Linked DNA regions of Homo sapiens: region 2 is linked to region 1. The links are contacts of gene promoters, found by promoter capture Hi-C in blood cells and fetal thymus (Javierre and others, 2016). All regions are on one chromosome and are shown on one strand. The core of a region is centred on a gene start or on the middle of the fragment in contact, and the rest is flanking DNA. Distances in the headings are between cores, read along the strand shown. Region 1 holds the start of MED28 (mediator complex subunit 28). Region 2 holds the start of CPEB2 (cytoplasmic polyadenylation element binding protein 2).

Evidence for each region. The method cuts DNA at HindIII sites, captures the fragments that hold promoters and counts their contacts. A CHiCAGO score of 5 or more calls a contact.
Region 2: a fragment that was not itself captured here is called in contact with the fragment with the promoter of MED28 in region 1 in 3 of 17 cell types (naive B cells, total CD8 T cells and fetal thymus); the score reaches 7.9 in naive B cells.

Annotation. Positions count from the first base shown.
Region 1 is chr4:17,610,985-17,615,932 of GRCh38, reverse strand. It overlaps MED28 (mediator complex subunit 28), which reads right to left and starts at 1,292. Exons shown (of 4, transcript NM_025205.5): 1 at 1,120-1,292. The coding sequence starts at 1,278. It overlaps MED28-DT (MED28 divergent transcript), which reads left to right and starts at 1,353. Exons shown (of 3, transcript NR_186331.1): 1 at 1,353-1,791; 2 at 1,895-2,001. RefSeq lists enhancers at 1,143-1,252, 1,353-1,642, 748-1,947. The HindIII fragment of the contact is 7,436 bases long and covers 1,202-4,948 here.
Region 2 is chr4:14,999,782-15,004,324 of GRCh38, reverse strand. CPEB2 (cytoplasmic polyadenylation element binding protein 2) reads right to left here and starts at 1,844. Exons shown (of 12, transcript NM_001177382.2): 1 at 1-1,844. The coding sequence starts at 1,651. CPEB2-DT (CPEB2 divergent transcript) reads left to right here and starts at 2,280. Exons shown (of 8, transcript NR_038857.1): 1 at 2,280-2,387; 2 at 2,600-2,699; 3 at 3,096-3,164. RefSeq lists silencers at 1-5, 386-595, 696-845, 896-1,205, 1,706-2,565 and an enhancer at 2,806-2,855. The HindIII fragment of the contact is 344 bases long and covers 2,585-2,928 here.

The sequences.
Region 1 (4,948 bases), core at 43-2,542:
TTTGTCCATGCAGTCTGAATAATCGCTTGCAAATTATATTCATTTACCACTGTGCTATTAGATACAATACAAAAGTCACAAAGTTGGGATTTTTATTTATTTATATTTTATTTTACTTTTTTGAGACGGAGTCGAGCTCTTGTCACCCACGCTGGAGTGCAATGGCGCGGTCTCCGCTCACTGCAACCTCCGCATCCCAGGTTCAAGCGATTCTCCTGCCTCAGCCTCTCGAGTACCTGGGATTACAGGCGCACGCCACCACGCCTGGCTAATTTTTGTATTTTTAGTAGAGTCAGGGTTTCACCATGTTGGTCAGGCTGGTCTCGAACTCCTGACCTCATGATCCGCCAGCCTCGGCCTCCCAAAGTGCTGGGATTACAGGCGTGAGCCACCGCGCCCGGCAAAACTGGGATTTAAAATGTGGAAAAGTTAACTCCAATTTGAACGTACATTACTTTATTACTACACAGGAATAGCTCATCTTCCACTTTAAAGACTACTGGAAATCACCAGAGCACTTATTTTCACCTCTCTATCTTCCCTCAATATACAGTTCACCTTTCTTGCTACAAGGTAAACTCCTTGGGCAAAACTGAGAGATTGGGTCACCTGTGCCTCCCTCCCTCCCTAACCTCCAGCATTCCTCCTTCCTCAGCTCTTAGTACCAAGCTGCGCCTGGTAACTTAAGTCAATTTCCGCTCTTAAGAGTCCCTTTAGGATCGTTTAAAGGTGAAGCCCAGCGGAAAGGATACAGGATACAGCAGTGAAACTCTCAGCTCCGAAAAGGCTTGAGCCTCTTACTAAACATGCAGGGATGCAAGAAACGGTGCTCGGGGATGAGACTAAGGACCGGCTGGGAATCTGGAAGGGTTCCAAGTTTGGGGTTTAGGCAAACTTCGGGTTCACGTTTCCACAAACGTCGAGTTTACGCGCCCCCGCCAGCAGACCTGAATTGAATACGGGCCACGGGGAAGCCTAAAGCAAGTGACTTACTTTAAGCCTCAGTTTCCCCATTTGTGAATTAGTTGCTCGGATCCCTGGAGGAGATACGCGTACGCGCAGTTCACGTTTCAGAAAAAAGGGAAGGCTAGGGACAAAGACGCCCATGTCTTATATTACCTCGAAAGATGACTCCAACTCGTCCACCAAAGTACTGCTGGAAGGTCTAGGAGCGCCTGGAGCTGCCTGAAGAAGCGAAGCTTGGCCCGGAAGGCCCGGCGGGGCCTGAGGGGGACCGGGTGGCTGCCCAGAAAACATACCCCCTAGTGGAGCCGCCATGTTTGGAATGGCGCAAGAGAGATCCACTGCGCCTGCGCGGAAGCCGGCTCAGAAGCTCACGTGGCTGGTGTAGTAGGCGTGGTCACGTGACAGGACCGAGCGATGGGAGGATTCTGGTGCACCCCGGAAGGAGGATTTTTAATTCTTCTGTTTTCTTGTCTATCGCAAAACAGAGTTTACATGTATTTTCCTTTTTTCTTAGCTTAAGAATTGAAGACTTTGGCCGGATTAGACCTGGTTGTGTGGAGAGGAGAATTAATAACTACAGTGGAGCGAGCCCTCCTGCGAGAGTCAGGATACTACTATGCTAGTCCCGACTCTGCCCCAAATGCCTGGAGAGACTTTGGCTAAGTCACTTTTTCTTTCCGCGGGCTGTTTACCGTTGGTAAAAGGAGAGGGTCACCCACTCACTCCACAAACATTTGTTGAGTCATTGGTTATAGCGGGAACAAGACAGGCAAAGTTCTTCCTGAATTCTGGTCGGAGATGGATAACGGAAACAACTTTGTTGAGGTTCCCAATGTGCCCGGCACTGATGTCTTTAAATATTTATGGTTACATCAAAGAGAAAGTCACTATGCTAATCTTTTTTTTTCTTTCTTTTCTTTTTTCTCAGGGTCTCGTTCTGTCGCCCTGGCCGGAGTGCAGTGTCATGATCAGGGCTCGACCTCCCGGGCTCAAACAATCCCCCTACTTCAGCCACCCAAGTAGCTAGGACCACAGGTGCGTGCAGTCGCGACGGGCTTTTTTTTTTTTTTTTTTTTTTTTTTTTAGTTGAGTCAGGTGTTTTACTGAGCTCAAGTGATTCTACCGCCGCGGCCTCCCAAAGTGTTGGGAATACAGTAATGAGCCAAGGCGCCAGGCTGCTAATTTTTTTTTTTTGAGACAGAGTCTCGCTTTGTCGCCCAGGCTGGAGTGCAGTGGCGCGATCTTGGCTCACTGCAAGCTCCGCCTCCCGGGTTCACGCCATTCTCCTGCCTCAGCATCCCGAGTAGCTGGGACTACAGGCGCCCGCCACCACGCCCAGCTAATTTTTTGTATATTTGGTAGAGATGGGGTTTCACCGTGTTAGCCAGGATGGTCTCGATCTCCTAACCTCGTGATCCGCCCGACTCGGCCTCCCAAAGTGCTGAGATTACAGGCGTGAGCCACCGCGCCCGGCACTAGGCTGCTAATCTTGTAGTAACCTGCTTTTAACATTTGCTTATCTCTCTCTTTTTTTTTGGTGACGGAGTCTCGCTCTGTCGCCCAGGCTGGAATGCAGTGGCGCGATCTCGGCTCACTGAAACCTCCGCCTCCTGGGTTCAAGCAATTCTCCTGCCTCAGCCTTCCGAGTAGCTGGGACTACAGGCGCCCGCCGCTCGGCTAGTTTTTCTGTATTTTAGTAGCGCCGGGGTTTCACCTTGTTGCCCAGGCTGGTCTCGAACTCCTGAGCTCAGACAATCCGCCCGCCTCGGTCTTCCAAAGTGCTAGGATTACAGGCGTGAGCCACCGTGCCCAACCTTCTTATTTATCTCTTTAAAACCAAATAACTTTTTTTCATTATATCTGATTTTACAGTTATTACCCAGCACACTTACTGAGCGCTCCACTTCCCAGGCACTATTTAATGATCTGGAGGTTATAGCAATCATCCCAAATCTCTGGAAGGAGACAGACAAGCACATAAATACATAGCAATATTGTGCAGAGAGAAGAGCTGGGAAGGAAAATGAAACCCAGTAAGGGGATGGCTAGTGAGAGGGGTGTTCTTTGAGATAGGTGATTGGAGGAGGCCTCTCCAAGGAGATCTGGACTGTAGTGACTGGCATGAAAATTTAACTAGGAGTGCTTTCTACACCGAAGGATCCCTGAAGAAGCAGCCTGCCTGGGATGTTTAAGGAACCACAGGAAGCTCATTGCCAGAGGAGTGAGCCAGGGCAGAAATGTTCAGAGAAAAAGCAGGAGCTTCCCTTTGCCAACCAGGCTCGGATCAAGTCATCTTCCCAGCCTCAGTTTCACTTAGATCCCCACTCCTAAGTACTTTCCCCTGTTTAATTTTCTTCACAACATTTATGTAATCTGAAATTATCTTGTTCATTTTTTCATAACTGAATCACCTGCCCTCCTCCTCCTTCTCTCTCTGTCATACACATGCCAACTAGAAAATAAGTTCCGTGCATCAGAGCCTGCCCATCTTATTCACCTGTATCCCCAGAATCTAGAATGGTGCCTGGCATAATAGATATAATAAATATGTGATGACTGAAAGAACCAGAAGAGACCGCCAGGAGGAAACAAGCCTACTCCAGCAGTTTTCAGACAGTTTTGGTCTCAAGACCCCTTTACACTCCTAAAAATTATTGAGGATCCCAAAGTTTTTGTTTATGTGGGTTAAGTCTGCTAATATTTATCTGATAAGTTAAAACTGAGAATTTTAGGCTGGAGGCAGTGGCTCATGCCTGTAATCCCAGCACTTTGGGAGGCCGAGGCAGCCGGATCACAAGGTCAGGAGATCAAGACCATCCTGGCTAACATGGTGAAACCCCATCTCTACTAAAAATACAAAAAATTAGCCAGGCGTTGTGGCGGGCGCCTGTAGTCCCAGTTACTTGGGAGGCTGAGGCCGGAGAATGGGGTGAACCCAGGAGGCAGAGCTTGCAGTGAGCCGAGATCATGCCACTACACTGCAGCCTGGTTGAGAGCAAGACTCCGTCTCAAAAAAAACAAAAACAGAATTTTAAAAATCAATTCATTAAAAAATAATTCATTAAATGTTAACAAAAACAATCTTTATTAAAACTAATACTCTATTTTCTAAAATAAGGAATAAGTAAAAAGTATGGCATCATTTTACTTTTTTGCAAATCTCTCTCTATATATATATATTTTTTTTGAGACAGGGTCTTACTCTGTTGCCCAGGCTGCAGTGCAGTTTCACAATTACAGCTCACCATAACTTCCGCCTCCCAGGCTCCAGCAATTCTCCCAATCAGCCTCCCAAGTAGCTGGAACTACAGGCATGTGCCAACACACCTGGCTAATTTTTTGTAGAGATGGGGTCTTGCCATGTTGCCCAGGCTGGTCTTGAACTCCTGGGCTCAAGCAGTCCACCTACCTCGGCCTCCCAAAGTGCTGGAATTATAGGAGTGAGCCACCGTGCCCAGCCTTTCAAGTCTCATTAATATCCAGTTTACCTAACCTCATTGTAAATTTCCTGCGAACATGGTCAGTGGTATTTCTCTTGCAGTCCTCCTAGAGTACTGCACAAAAAAGCACTAACATTTTTTGGATTTTGCTGAAAACCCATCACTTCATTTATAAGATGAGAGAACACTGCCTTAGAAAAATTACTAAGAACAAGATAATCTATGTAGAGGTTTAATACTGTGCCTTGCATAAACTAAGTTGCTAAGGAGTGACACGATGTAACTCCTATTTTTAATTTTTAGAGATAAGGTCTCACTATGTTGCCCAGGCTAATCTTGAGCTCCTGGCCTCAAGTGATCCTCCCACCTTGGCCTCCCAAAATTCTGAGAATACAGGCATGAGCCACTGGGCCCGGCCTGATTTATGTTTTAAAATAATCTTTCTAGTCATACAGATAACAGGAGAACAAGTGGAGAAGGCAGGGAGACCAGTGAAAGAGAGTAATCTAGGAGTGCAGAGAGGATGGTGACTTGTACCAGGG
Region 2 (4,543 bases), core at 1,507-4,006, 2.6 Mb after region 1:
TATAGGAGTTCCTCTGCTGCAGGAAGGCGGCGGCCGCCGCCTGGTGCTGCTGCTGGAGCTGCGGGCTGACGGGCGACCTCCGGCTCTGCGGCTGCTGCGGCGCCGCGGGCGGCGGGGGCTGCTGTTGAGGTATATTCATGGCGGGCGGCGGCGGAGGGGGCACAGCGGTAGCCGAGAAGGGGCCGCCGAAGCCGCCGCCGCCGCCGCCGCTCGTCGGAACGCTGAGCCCAGTGCAGCCGTGCGGCGACACGGGCGAGAAGCTAGGGAAGAAGGCCGGGTTCATGGACGACGGCAGCCCGGGGTAGAAGCCGTTCTCTGAGTCGGGGCTGGGCGGCGGCATGGCGCTGAGCGAGCCGCCGCTGCCGCCGCCCGGGGTGGTGGCAGACGAGCCGGGCGGCTGCGGCTGCGGCTGGGGCGGCTGCTGGGGTGGCGGCGGCTGCTGCTGCGGCTGGGTCGGCGGCGGCTGCTGGGGCTGGGGTGGCGGCGACGCGGTCTGCACCGACCAGGGGGTGCCGAAGCCGGGCAGCGGCGGCGGCGACGCGGAGCCGCCTCCCCCTCCGCCTCCTGGGGGCCCCCCGCCCCCGCCGCCGCCGCCGCCGCCCGGGTGTGGAAGGTCCGGGCTCTGCAGGCTGCTGAAGGCGCCCGCGCCAAGCGCACCTCCGGGCAGGAGGTTACTGGGACTGTTGAGCAGAGGGTGGTTGGGGGACTCCATGGAGCCCGGCGCGGGGTTCACCGGCGTCGAGGAGGCCAAGCCCGCATTGGGGGACTCGGCGGCGCTGCCCTCGCCCGCGGCTGGGGTCTTGCGAGGGCTGCCCGCGCCTCCGTGGCGGCGCCGCGGGGCTGCAGGCGGCGAGGGAGGGAGCTGCGGGAGCGGGGGCAGGTCTGCCGGACGCTGCCGCGGGGCGAAGTCCTGCGGCGAGAGGTGCTGCTGATGCAGGAGGCTGAACTGCTGCGGCGGCTGTTGCTGCTGGCGCTGAGCGAGCTGCGCCGGCTGGAGGAGCGGGCCGGCTGGCGGCGGCGGCGGGCTGAACCGACCGGGGCAGTGGAGCGGCGGAGGCGGCGGCGGCGGCTTCGAGTCCGGAGGGTGGGGAAGGTGGGGAGGGCTGAACTCTTTCCTCTTCTGGCTGCTCAGCTGCTGCTGCTGCCGCTTACTGAAGTCCTGCGGGGAGGAGGTGCGGCAGCAGCAGCAGGAGGAGGCGGAGGAGGAGGAGGGGTGGTGCAGACTCGGTTTGAAGTCCTGGGAGGGGAGGAGGTGGGTCACACCCGCGATCGTGCCGCCGCCGGGGTGGTGGTCGGGGAGTTTCTCCGTGGCCGCCGCCCCCGAAAGCGGCCGCGCCGGCTGCTGTGTCAGCCCCAGAAGCAGCTCATCCTGCATGGTCTGCTGATGCGCCAGGAACGGGGAGGAAGAGGAAGCGGCGGCGGCCGGGCTGCCCGCGCCGCCGCCGAGGGGGACGGAGAAGGGGGAGGCGGCCTCTAAGAAGCCGGTGACAGGCAACGGTGGTGGCGACAGTGGGCCGAAGGGCGTGGCGGAGGGCAGCGGGTTGACGGACCCCACGGCGTAAGGACCATACGCCTCGCCGCAGAACAGGGGCCCAGGACTGCTACTTCGGAGCGGGGCGGTCTGCAGCACCCCAAACCCGAAATCCCTCATTTATCAGGCCGCCGGCAGCGGGAGGAGACGCTCCTCGTCCCCTGCCCCACCTAGGAAGCCGCCGGCGCTGGGGTTGCGCGGCCGTGGTGGAAGGAGGGGGAGTCAGTGAGAGAGGGACACCGTGACTGAGCCAGGGGGCACCGACTTCGGCCCCACCACCCCTCGCGGCGATCGCCGCCGCCGCCGCCGTCGCAGTCGCCGTAGCCGCCCTGGCCGCTTAAGAACCCCGGAACGTGCGTCAGCGCCACCTCACAATCGCGCCGCCCCCCGCGGTGCGTCCCGGCACGCGCGGGCGCGAGGCCACCGCGTCCCCGTCGCCCCTCCCCGCCCCTCATTACTATGCAGACGCAGCCGAGGGCGCGCTCGCGCTCCCGGGAGGGCGGGAGCGAGCGGCGTGTCCCGTTGGGTCTCTCCGCTCCCGGGGAAATGGACAGGCCGGTTGGGGTGGGGGTCGGCTGGCAAACAGTGGTCGGGAGCATTGGGCGGGCGCGCGCACGAGGGCAAGCACGCGCGGGAGGGAGGGACGGTTCCTGGGCAACGGCCCCTCCTTGGCGCGGGATCCGCGCAGAGTCTGCCTGGGTCGCACGCGTCTCCGCCCCTCGCGGTGCCTCCTCCTTCCTGTCACCTCGGTTCCGCCCTGGGTGGGGAGAAGCCCTGCTGCACCACTCGGGCTTCCCAGAGCGGGGCTGGCCCGCGGGGGAAACTGAGGCCCGGGACCCCGACCGGCGCCTGCACTGTGCGACCCGCGTAGAAATAGGCGCCCGAGGGGCCCCCAGCGCAACGCGGGAGCCCGGCCCAGCCCGGGGGTCCTGTGGTGAACTAGCGTCTGGGCTCTGCCGGCTTGAAGTCCGCTGAGCGCCTCGCCGCGCACCTCTAGACCCCGAGTCCCCGATCTAGGGCCTCCTTGTAGCCCTAGGTAGCGCCCTCTAAGCTTGTTTCTGTTTTTAGGCGCTGGTAGGAGTGCTGTCACCGACGTCGTAGAGCCGCCGAGGGTGTTTCTGTAGGGTAAACATGAAGCCTCGGCTATATTCCAGGCATTTTCACTTGGGTAAGAAGGAACAAAGTCCCTGGAACAAACACGCTCCGCGTGGTTATTTACACACTCGGATGCGTGGAACGGGTTCCACGGCGAGCTCCCATAGTAACCCCGGGCCAGCTCCGCTTCATAAAAGCCTTTCGTGTGCCATCAGGGCTGCAGCGTGGGACTCCTCCCCACCACATTCATTCCGGCGTCCCCGCCCCTTCCCCCCAGGGAGACTCTAATTTATTCCTAAGCTTTATGAATTTTCAAGGGAGAAATAGTTCTTACATCAGGGAAAAAAGGAGGTTCTGACTCAGCAGCAGACTTGTTGAGACTTGCAAAATGGAAGGGAGAGAGCTTTCCATGGTAGAGCTCTTTAGAAGCATTAGAGGAGGAACTAATCCTGTGTTTCCTTTTGTATAGAAACATTTTACATAAAGTATTTGAAGGTCTAGATAAAGAATAACAGAGTGATCCATACTACATGATGAGGTGAACTTTATGTTTCTGTTTTGTAATTTTAACTGTTTTGCTTGATGCTTAGAGAAATGAAACTATTAAATGAATCCTAGAATATAGACTCAAACCCCCAAAGCAATAGAAGGTGGATTCAGACTTTACTTGATTTTGGTTTACAAGTGAACTAAGATTAAATATTTAATTTTATAAATTAGCATACTCTTACTGATGTAGGCAGAGTGTACATTTTTATAAGTCCTCATTCTCTATTTGAATTCTACTTCTGTTCAGTGTCTCAAATTTATATAAATCGAAATAAACATGGTAGAAAGAGAGCAACATTGCCCCAGGGAACTATACTTCATGTATAATGTTTATCTCTGCTATCCTGTCCAATGAACCAAGTTTTATGTTGCCTTTACAATAAGGAAAAAGTACTTTTTAAAAAACTCAAATGGTTCAGAATTTGGTCAGGTGAATAGAAAATTGGTTCAACTTATTAATCTCAAAATCATTTTTAACAGTCAGGCAAAATGTAGAACTGGAGAAGTATTTTTATTCTAAATTACAATGTCTAGAAAATAACCTGAGCTCAGAATTTAAAATATAAATGGTTATTTTCAGAGTATATATTGACATATTAAATATTCATTTTTTAAAAGGTATTGTGCAGGAAAAAAAACTACTTCTGCAACTAAGGAATGTAAAGTCTTAACAACGGATGATTTTTTTCCAAGTACAGTTGTATTTGATTGGAATCATTTGCAGATCCAACAACAAATCTTGAAATAGGGGGAAAATACAGGTATAAACCTTAGCTCAATTATCCACTAACACCGCAGTTAGTAAAGAGGAGAGAGCACATACTTTTAAAAGCTAACTGGTGCCTTTCTGGGCTAGAGTTTTGAACAAAAACAAGATTTCTTAGTGCTCTGGTACTAGTTTTGTCTTAGAGGATTTAGAGCTCTCTGAAACGGGGAAAAGCCATCAAGTTTGTTATTACATAATAATGTCAAACTTCATATTAAATACACCAAATTCCAAATCCTGCCAGGGCCTCTACTCACTACTTTTGTGAGGGCCCCATTTTTTTAGAGCAGAAAGTTACTTTCTGACATCTTGTAAGCTGGTGATCTTGCCCTTATTGAAAATATTCAAATGAAAAGGTTTCCTAGGGTGGAGAGTGGAGTGGGGTAGGGAGAAGGAGCAGCAAATACTGAGGAGGGACTATGGTCCTCTAGCAGTTTCCATGCCAAGATCTTATGAGTCCATTCAATGATTTTTTTGGTTTTTTACATGAAAATATTTTGACTCATGATCATTAACTAGGACCTTGACTTTGTATTTGACAGTCCCTTATTCATTTACTCCCACTGTCCTGGGCAAGTATTTTTAAAAGTATTTTTGCTACA